2 separate regions of the Homo sapiens genome follow, and region 2 is linked to region 1. Evidence: promoter capture Hi-C in human tissues and cell types (Jung and others, 2019). All regions are on one chromosome and are shown on one strand. Each heading gives the region's core, a stretch centred on a gene start or on the middle of the fragment in contact. The rest is flanking DNA. Distances are from core to core; before and after follow the strand shown.

Region 1 (5,440 bases), core at 2,207-4,706:
ATGGGTAATCTGACTCTAATGCCTTGTACTCCTTTAAAAAGTGGTAATAATTAAGAAAATAAGGCCGGGAGTGGTGACTCACGCCTGTAATCCCAACACTTTGGGAGGCCGAGGTGGGCGGATCACCTGAGGTCAGGAGTTCGATATCAGCCTGGCTAACATGGTAAAACCCTGTCTCTACTAAAAATACAAAAATTAGCCAGGCATGGTGGTGGGCACCTGTAATCCCAGCTACTCAGGAGGCTGAGACAGGAGAATCACTTGAACCCAGGAGGCAGAGGTTGCAGCGAGCCAAGATCGCACCACTGCACTCCAGCCTGGGCAGTAGAGTGAGAATCTATCTCAAAAAAAAAAAAAAAAAAAAAAAAAGAAAAGAAAAGAAAAAGAAAAGAAAATTAAAAACAGAGATTAGTTTTTCTTCTACTTTGGTCTTCTTTGACTCAAAAAATATTATCTCTTCTTTCCTAACCCTTTACAGCCATATTATGGGAAGTAGGTTTCCCATTTTTCTGAAGAGGAGTTTGAGATACCTGCATCTCTCTCACAAAATCATATACTACTGGGAATCTCTCTCTCTCTCTCTTTGAGACAAGGCCTGGGTGAGTCTGTCACCCACGCTGGAGTGCAATGGCACTATCTCCTCACTGCAACCTCGGCCTCCTGGGCTCAAGTGATCCTCCCACCTCAGCCTCTCAAGTAGCTGGCATGCGCCACCACATCCGGTTAATTTTTGTATTTTTTTTAGAGATGGGGTTTCGTCATGTTGCCCAGGCTGGTCTCAAACTCCTGTCCTCAAGCAATCCTCCCACCTTGACCCCCCAAAATGCTGGGATTACAGGCGTGAGCCACCACGCCCGGTCGAAAGTGCCATTTCTTTAGCATTCAAAAAAAGTATCTTAGGCCGGGTGCGGTGACTCACACCTATAATCCCAGCACTTTGGGAGGCCCAGGCGGGCGGATCACTTGAGGTCAGGAGTTCAAGACCAGCCTGGCCAACATGGTAAACCCCGTCTCTATAAAAATACAAAAATTGGACGGGCGTGGTAGCATGTGCCTGTAATCCCAGCTACTCGGGAGGCTGAGGCACGAGAATTGCTTGAACCCAGGAGGCAGACGTTGCAGTGAGCAGATATCGTGCCACTGCACTCCAGCCTGGGTAACACAGCAAGACTCCGTCCCCCAAAAAAAGTGTCTTCATTCATCTGAAATGTGTCAGTGTTACCACAGCGGGAACCGGCATTGAGGAAAATCAGGTTTTCTGGGAAAGACTTGGAGGTGGGAACTCAAGAAGTTATTCTCAAAACTGTGAGCTGGGAATCAAGACAGCGTGACTCAATTCAGCACCGTGGACAGAGCTGCTGGAGCCCTCAGGACCCTGGACAGAGAAGCAGGCCGCGCATTCCCGGGGAACCGAATTCGCATCACTTGAGAACCCACCTAGAGAAGCCAGAGCGTTCAACTCCCCTTTCCCTCCCTTTTCTTCAGCCAGACCTCAGCCACTTGCTCCTGAGTCTTAGGAACAGAGGTACACGGAGCGAATATATTTTAAGGGCGCCACTAACAGCGGGAGATAAGACTTTTGGGAGAGGAGAATTATGTAAATAAAAATGGCTTTGGCTGATGTACTAGGAGAACTCTTGATAATTCTAAATTAGAGTCCTCAGATGGGAGTGGGGCACTGCTAATAATATTTGTTAACGATATGTATTTTTTAGGCGGAGCAGCAAAGGGCCACTCTTGTCCTTTTTACCCCACGAAGTCCCACCTCCCATTCCTTACGCTCAAGTTTTCATTTCTTGGAGAGCACCCCGTACGAGAGAAAGGGAAATAACTTCTGCAGTCTCTTGCTTTCCTCCCCATCTTCCCCTTCCCTACCCCCACTCATCCGGTCTCTCTGAAATACACATGTGCCCACATCCGCACGTGCACACACACACACACACAAACACACACACAGAGCCACAGCGTGAGAATTCCAAAAGGTTCTGCACACTCGGTGGAGAAGATTGAATTCAGAGCAAGCGGATGCCCCCGAAAGCAGGCTCTGTCCCTTTAAATGGGTTGTAGTGGTGGGGGAGGGGAACTGGCCGGAGCTGGCATTGTCCAGTTTGAACTGAACACCGGAAGTGAAGGGGCAGGGCCAGGGCCGTGCACTGAGCCCCGGGCCATTGTCCATCTCCGACCAGGGCAGTAGCCACCCCCACTAGCCAGCCGTCTTTATCTCCTAGAAGGGGAGGTTACCTCTTCAAATGAGGAGGCCCCCCAGTCCTGTTCCTCCACCAGCCCCACTACGGAATGGGAGCGCATTTTAGGGTGGTTACTCTGAAACAAGGAGGGCCTAGGAATCTAAGAGTGTGAAGAGTAGAGAGGAAGTACCTCTACCCACCAGCCCACCCAGTCCCTCTCTCAGCAGTGGATGGGGATGGGGTGGGGGTAGGACGAGAAGGCAGCTGGTGGAGAAACAGCTTCAAGACTCTTTGGGTTCCTCCTGCTCTCCAGGGAGCTTACCTGGGGCTAACTTTAGACACACAGGTTTGGAGGGAGGAAAGAAGGAAGAATTCTTTACAACGAATCAATTAAGAGCACTTTCTCTTTTCTAACTGGGGGAGGCCCAGAAAAACTCTGAGTCAGAAACTCTGGGAGGCAGACATTCAGATGTAGTCAGAGGCAGACAGACTTTGGAAGGCAGCGCTTTGGTCAGGACAGATCAGCCCTGTGTGTCCCCAGCCTCTCCCCTGCTCCCCCATCCCGGGCTTCCCAGTGTCCAGAACTCCAGGTCTATCTAAGCACACGGGGGTGGGGGGTGAGAGCGGGTCAGCTCCAAGCAGCCGGGTCAGCTCAGAGGCCTGAGGGGGAAGAGAGGGGGAGGGGAGCTCAAGGGCTGGGGGAGGGGGAGGGCCCATTCATTTCTCCCTTGACAGGTGGTTTGTGTTTCTGATTGGCCAGCGCCGCCAGGCTCACACCTCCCTCCCCCAACTCTCTGGAATGTATAATTATCTGCCCGGGGGGTGGGGGTGGTGTGTGTGTGTGTGTGTGTGTGTGTGTGTGTGTGTGTGCAGTCACGTGGTTTTAAAACTACCCCCCCCACCAGGTCCCCCACCTGTATCTGCTTTGGGGACCCCTACTGAGTCCAAAGTGCAGGATCTCAAATTCCGGGGTACTCAAGTCTTCTAGGGCAGACAGACCCATCTCCAGTTGTGCGTGTGGGGAGGGGGTGTCAAACCTCAAGGTTCTGAGAAGGGACACCCCAGAGGTGTCAGAGACCGGAGTTGTGGGGGAGGGCCGGAGCTGGAGCCGGAGGGAAAGGGAGGGGAAAGGAGAGGGAGGGGAGGGGAGGGGGCTGCCCGCGGGGGGTTGGGTCATTGTCTTTTAGAATTTGGGAGCCTTTGAAAAGCCGTGGGCCCTCCCACCGCTATTGTGCGGGGGAAGATGTAGCAGCTTCTTCTCCGAACCAACCCTTTGCCTTCGGACTTCTCCGGGGCCAGCAGCCGCCCGACCAGGGGCCCGGGGCCACGGGCTCAGCCGACGACCATGGGCTCCGTGTCCAACCAGCAGTTTGCAGGTTCGAGCTCGGGACTTAGCGGGGACACTTTAGGATTCAGGGGCGGCCAGGAGCCACGTAGAAGGGAGGTGGGGAACTGAGTCCTAGGCTGCCCAAAGGACCCCAAGACGGTGCGGCCTTCTGCTTCATAGGGCCGTCTCTGGGGCCAGGAACCTTGGTGTCCCAGTGGCGTGCGCGCCAGACTACGTGGGTGGATGGAGAGGAGAGGCTTGTCCCGCCGTGAGTCTCTGGGAAACGCGTTGTGGGAAGAGGAGCAAAACTTTCGGGGCACTACTGTCCCGGTGTACGCTAGGGGAACGCGGGAGGCGACCGGGATAGGTTTCTTCTCTTCTGTTGCTTGGTAGCTGCCCCCTCCTGGCTGTCCACTTGTGGGGCTGGATACTCGGGTCTCCCTGCCTGGGGCCCGAGACGGCCCTCCGATTCCGTGCCCCCCAGCTAAGTGCCCGGCCCTCCCTCTCTCCAGGTGGCTGCGCCAAGGCGGCAGAAGAGGCGCCCGAGGAGGCGCCGGAGGACGCGGCCCGGGCGGCGGACGAGCCTCAGCTGCTGCACGGTGCGGGCATCTGTAAGTGGTTCAACGTGCGCATGGGGTTCGGCTTCCTGTCCATGACCGCCCGCGCCGGGGTCGCGCTCGACCCCCCAGTGGATGTCTTTGTGCACCAGGTGAGACTGATTCCGGTAACTTTGCCCAGGGAAGGGCGTCTAGGCGCCCATATCCACGGGTGGGCTCCGGGCTCGCAGTTGAATTGAGGGCCATCGGGAGCCCTCATTATGCATCCCTGTCTTTGCTTCGGCACCCCAATTCTGAGTCCCTGTTAACTATCTCGTGGGGGAGTAGTGGGAGGCAGCACCAATTATCAGCACCCCCGCCCCCTTCCGGGAACCCCTCCGGCTTACCACGTGTCTATTACCTCTTTCCCCTGGGAAGGGGCAGGGGGCAGGGAGGTGACCCCATGTGGCAGAAACTAAGGTTGTATTGTGCTTGCCGGTGGGGGGAGGGCGAGCAGGCCGGCCAGGGAAGCACATGCCGGGCCTAAGCCGGGAGCCCAGCTCCTCCAACGTCTGAATGGAGCTCAGAAGGCGGGAGAGAGTGAGGGCAACTGGCTACTGGACCCAAGGGGCGTAAAGCCGAGAAGTCAGCCTCATCCCCTTTTTAATGCAGACCTCACCTGGCTGGTCACTAAAAACTGGGTTTGGCAGATCCCTGAAGGATCCCTGTGGGGGCTTGAAAGCTCAGGACTGGGGTCTTTGCTGTCCAGTTCCCGTGAGGAAGGAAAACCCAAAGAGCCCAGGCCTTCCTTACATTCCTGGGCCAGGCTGGGAGGGAAGTCGGTAGGTCGCAACCCCAAGTTCTCAGTTAAAGCAGGGCAGCACAGTAGGGGGTGAAATTCAGTGTCGCAGGGCAGGGGGTGAAGGGAGGCTGGCCTCTGGTCCTATTCTCCGCTTGGCATTTATGGCCCCAGACAGCCATTGATTGCTGTCTTAACATTCCTGGCCTCAAACAAGGAGCCAGAGACTTCAGGTCTCCCTCCTCCCAGGCTTCCCCTTCCTGAATATCCTAGAGGCATTCCGGTGGTCCTGGGCCACCAGCTACCCATAAAGACCATGGAAAGGAAGTTGCTTGCTGCCTATGGCCCTTCCATCTTTGGAGGTTTGGGACTGGATCTGGAAAGAAGAAATTGCTAATCCCAGATCGTGTAGGTTGACACCCAGGCCGGGCAGGGAGGGGTTACTTAAGGGAGGTTGGCTTTAGGAGGTGTGGGGGAGGGGAAAGGAGGATGTGGGGATTAAGGGTTGGAGCCTGAAGGGATGGCATTCTTTGGGGGAGGGGTAGAGAAGGGAGATGCTGGATGGACTAGTTGGAGGCAGCAGGGACGTCTT
Region 2 (5,096 bases), core at 1,550-4,049, 55 kb after region 1:
GGTAACAAAGCTGAAGGACTTTAATCAGGGGATGACGGGATCTGAGTTGCATTTTGTAAAAATCATTCAGAATTTTCAACGGGCTGGAGTTAAAGCCAAGAGACAGAACTCCTGCAGTAGTCCAGGTGAGAGAGGATGCGCCTCGAGGTAGGGTGGTGGCAGTAGGGAAGGGGAGGAGTGAAGACGGGATAAAAACAAATGTTGAAATAGAAACAAGTGAAACTAGCTATATCAAGGTGATAATATAACTCCCCAGAGAAAGGAATTAATTCAGCTTACCTGAACACAGTTCTCTGCTATTCATCTTTAGTGGAATTTCTTTTCAGGATAATACAAACTGCAACACAAAATTAAACATTACTTAAGAGGTTTATTGTTAGTGGCAATGTTGGTAATGTAATTATGAAACTCTTGTTTCTTTTTTTTTGAAATGGAGTTTCGCTCTTGTTGCCCAGGCTGGAGTGCAATGGCGTGATCTCGGCTCACTGCAACCTCCGCCTCCCAGGTTCAAGCGATTCTCCTGCCTCAGCCTCCCAAGTGGCTGGGATTACAGGCATGTGCCACCACATCTGGCTAATTTTATATTTTTAGTAGAGATGGGGTTTCTCCATGTTGGTCAGGCTGGTCTCAAACCCCCGACCTCAGGTGATCTGCCCGCCTCGGCCTCCCAAAGTGCTGGGATTACAGGCGTGAACCACCGCGACCGGCCTGAAACTCTTGTTTCTTGTAGGCTAAAACAAATAAGTACAAATAATAATGTTATTAGGAACCAAGACACTTAGGTTGTGGCCATAGCAATTGGTTGTATAGTTCTGCTGTTTCCTGGGATGGGGTGGAAGGTGTTTGAGGTCAACTATTAAGTGTTCCATTTTTACCTATGGATCATATTTGCAAACTTTTTTTTTTTTTTTTTTTTTTTTGAGACGGAATCTCACTCTGTCGCTGGAGAACAGTGGCATGATCTCGGCTCACTGCAACCTCTGCCTCCCGGATTCAAGCAATTCTCCTGCCTCAGCCTCCCATGTAGCTGGGACTACAGGCACGTGCCACCACGCACAACTAATTTTTGTATTTTTAGTAGAGACAGGGTTTCACCATGTTGGCCAGGCTGGTCTCAAAATCCTGACCTCAGGTGATCCACCCACCTTGGCCTCCGAAAGTGCTAGGATTACAGGCATGAGCCGCTGCGCCCGGCCTATATTTGCAAACTTTTATTGAGTTCTTACCACATGTCAGGCATCCTTCCAGTATTGAGTTCTTACCACATGTCAGGCATCCTTTCAGTAAATTCTGTGAACTGCTTTAAGGCAGATACTATTATTATTGCCTCTGTTTTTAGAGCAAGGAATCCAAAGTTATAATAGAGATACTGATTATCTTGAAGCCTTCTCCAGCAGGAGCCCTTGGAGGTCCTGGCCAGGCTTTCTCTACCCCAGAAGCTTCAAAGCTCTGTTTCTAGAAATCATATCACCTTGGCAGATGCACTAAGGGGAGAATCCAGACTAACAGCATCCTCACCAGTTTGTTCTCAGACCAGAGAGGTCTTTCCAGGCTTTTCTCATGTCTCCCTTTTACAGACCCTGTATCATGGCCAAACTGGACTCTTCCCAGTTACCTGTTCCATGCCCTCCAGTTTCCTACCTGTATGTCTGTGCTCTTGCCCCATCACCCAAATTCCCATTTTAAAATCTGAGCTGCTCTGTCTCTAGGCCCTGCCCAATGTGTCCCTATTCTCTGCAGGAAGCCAGGGCAAGGGGCTAGGCTCTGGACCTAGAGTAGCTTACTGAGAGGAAGGCAGCGGGTGGATCGTAAGGGAAGCAGGGACTTGGCTACAAGTTGTGGGGAGCCAGACCTTGGTATCTGAATGGACCATGACAGTCTCCAGGTGGTCACCTAGCCAGTCTTAAAGGCTGGCAAAGGGAGATCTTGACTATGATGCAGTAGGACTTGTCAGCAAAGAGGCAGGGACAAATAGAGAATCAGGCCAGGGAGGGGGTGTGCGGCAGTGCAGAGCAGCTGATCCTCAATCACAAGTTGCATGGATGGTAGGTCCTTGAGAGGTCACTGATGGAGATGAGTAAAAAGTGTTCACCTCATCTCCAAGGATGATATTAGAGAGGGAAAAGACACATGTTCCCACGAAGCTTCCTGTAGTACATTTGTCACAATTTAAACGGGCTGGATTGAACATTATATTTCTTCTGCTCTTCAGGTTGTCACTATCTTCTCCTCAGGATAAAAGCTTGAGTTATGTATGTATGCATATATGTATGCATGTGGAAATGGGGTCTCGCCATGTTGCCCAGGCTGGTCTTGAGCAGCTGGGCTCAAGCGAGCCTCCCACCTTAGCCTAAAAGCTTGAGTTAATGTCTCAGACATTCATGACTTTGAATATTGGCACTGCCTACATAGCTATATGACTGTACAGTTACTTAACCCCTCAGAGTATCATTTTCCTCACCTGTAAAATGAGAGAAGTAGCGTTTACAGTAATACCTACCTTGCAGGTTTGTGATAGGGATTCAGTAAGCTAACACATGTCAAGTGCTGAGTGCAGTGGCTGGAACAGAGTTCATTTTCCAAGAATGGTGGCCAATATTGTTCCCCACATGTGTGTCTCTTGGCCTCTCCTCAGACTCCTCTCTGGAAAAGCACCCTGCACATCCTGTCCCCAGTACAACTCCCCAGGCAAGGAGACTCTGAGGGTGCTTCAGAACATCATGTTTCTGGTAGGAGGTGCCCTTCTCTGCCTGAGAGCAGCCCTCAGAAATGCATTCCTCATGCTGCTGACCTGGGCTGGCTGGTTGCAGCTTGGGGAAGGACTTTTCATTGGCTAATGTTTTGAAGCCAAGGACCTGCAGCCTCTCTCCAGGTGCCAACAGAGTGGTAGAGGACTTTTAGATTTAAGTACTGGAGGGACTATTACATCTTGTTCTCTGATTCTACCAAGGAGAGAATAAGAGCAGAGAGGGATAATGCCCAGGAGGAATTTAGATTCATAGGTTAGAACCACATTTCTCAAAGTGAGCTTCTTGGAGCCCTTGCACCAAGATTGGATAAGGTCTGTACAAAAAGTCTCTAAGGAAAGAATTAACGCCCTCACTTACCCTGATTGGTCATTATACAAGGATAGTAGACAAATGGTCAGGGAGAGAAAAGTTGACCTCTAGGACTTCTGTTAGCTTGGATTTCCCAAGGGTAAGTACTTGAGAAGAACTGGAAACACCTCTGAGATTGAAAGGGTAGATTCAGACCATGTGGAAGCTGGATAGACAGGTATCCAGATACAGGCCACCAGCTTTTCCACCCCTAGAAAGTAGAGCTTATACACAGGCACGAGATACACTTCACATTGTCCTCTCAAGAAGTTATCTTAGTGGAGAAGCCAAGGGAACTTCAGCCATCTCAGCCTCGCTGTCATTTTCTGTAAAATGACGAGCAGACACCCTCCCAACTCTGCTATCTGAACAATGAACTGCTAATTCCTGGCAGACAGGGGCCAGGCTCTGCCTGGGCTACAGCCCCCATTGCTGGCATGCACTCTGATGCCATCTGGAAGAAGCTTGCGCCTCATGAAGTGGCTTTAGCTAGCTCCATATTTCCTCCCTCTGTTGCTGAGCGTCCCCCATCCTTTCTGTTCTGCCAGAAACTTAGACTACTTAGCCCAGTCCACAAGTGGCGGTGATAGAACAGCTAACAGTTAATAGCCAAGCAGTAGGCTGAAAATTCATTATCTCATTTTTCCTCAAACAACCCAGTGAGGTGGGTACTCTTATCCCGGTTTTGCAGAGTAAGAGAGAGCCTTAGAGAGGTGAGGGAGGCCTTAGGAACTTCTCAAACCCCAGTGCTCCAGGTGGACTTACTCTGGCCTTAACAGGCTCTTCGGTTCCATGCATCTTTGCTCATTACTCCCACTGCCAGAATATTCTCCCTGCCCCCCACACACCTCACCTCTGTTTGAATCCTCCTCATTGGTTAAAGGGCCAGCTCAAATTCTGTCTGTCCATGAAGGTCACTGCTCCGTGATGTTCATCAGCCACACTTGCTTTCTCCTCTGAACTGCATGACCCTTACCACATCCTATTTTGCATCGTGGCACTCTGTGTGCATGGCTGTACAATCAGCCTGTAAGCACCTGGATTGCTGGGATCGTGTCCTGCGCATCTCCATATCCTCAAAAAAAATCCTGTATGTAGCACCCAGGGAGCCTCCTGACCAAGGCCTGGAAGAAGCCCTTCCAGCAAGACGGAGAGCTCTACGGCAACTGTTCAAGCCCGAAGTCCTCATAGCTCCACATGTAATTCATTGTAATAGCAGAAGAGAAGTATTCTTGAATGCCTGGGATTATTCAGGAGCCGGGGGGGACAGTCCAGAATTCTCATTTGTCATCCTTATTCATGCAGTAAACCTTTATTGCTGAGAGACAGCAAATCAGTTCCCTGCTCCATGTCTGTCTCCAGCAGAAAGTACCTCCCTCACAGCTCCATTGTGAGGGTCAAGTGAGGCAACAGATGAAGTGGTTGTGCACATGTAAGATATTCTTTAAACCATGAAGACAGAGCAGTCAAGGTGCTTACAGGCTGATTAGGACAAAAACATGTATACAAGTTTATCGTAATACAAGGTAGAATGTGGGAAGGGTCATCAGGGTATAGGATACCATAGGAAAATAGAGTTTCTCACACATGGAATAGGTTTGGCAGGAGGAGCTCTAGTGCAAAGGCTTTGCAGGTCAGTTAGACTGGCAGGAACAGAGAGGATCAGTGAGGCACAGGAAAGCCTTGGTTCTGCTCCAAAGGGATTTTCCGCTCTTCTGTATCAGGAGCATCCTCACTGCTCTCCTGGGATCACGTGGTCAGTCAGTTGAGTGTTTCACATGTACAGGGCACCCCAAGTGCTGGAGAGGAAGAAGCCCAGTCTCTGCCCTCTAGTACTTGGGATGATAACTGCTGCCAGGGAGTATGATCACCACCTGGTGTCAGAGCTGGTTGCAAGAGGCTTGAAGGCTCTCAAACTTCCAAGGGCTTATTTTCTAACAGAAAGAGTGGATTGTGAACACTAACACTTATTCTACTATGCAGAATGCAATAAGTGGC

The links. Contacts are between HindIII fragments. The study calls those that stand out against the background at their distance.
Region 2: a fragment that was not itself captured here is called in contact with the fragment with the promoter of LIN28A in region 1 in 5 of the 25 tissues and cell types used here (bladder, dorsolateral prefrontal cortex, lymphoblastoid cells and 2 more).

Annotation. Positions count from the first base shown.
Region 1 is chr1:26,407,361-26,412,800 of GRCh38, forward strand. It overlaps LIN28A (lin-28 RNA binding posttranscriptional regulator A), which reads left to right and starts at 3,457. Exons shown (of 4, transcript NM_024674.6): 1 at 3,457-3,562; 2 at 4,026-4,222. The coding sequence starts at 3,532. RefSeq lists enhancers at 1,606-2,165, 2,166-2,723. The HindIII fragment of the contact is 10,463 bases long and covers 1-5,440 here.
Region 2 is chr1:26,463,097-26,468,192 of GRCh38, forward strand. All of the region lies in intron 8 of DHDDS (dehydrodolichyl diphosphate synthase subunit), which reads left to right. It overlaps DHDDS-AS1 (DHDDS antisense RNA 1), which reads right to left and starts at 4,441. Exons shown (of 3, transcript NR_125953.1): 1 at 3,952-4,441; 2 at 280-337. The HindIII fragment of the contact is 4,677 bases long and covers 462-5,096 here.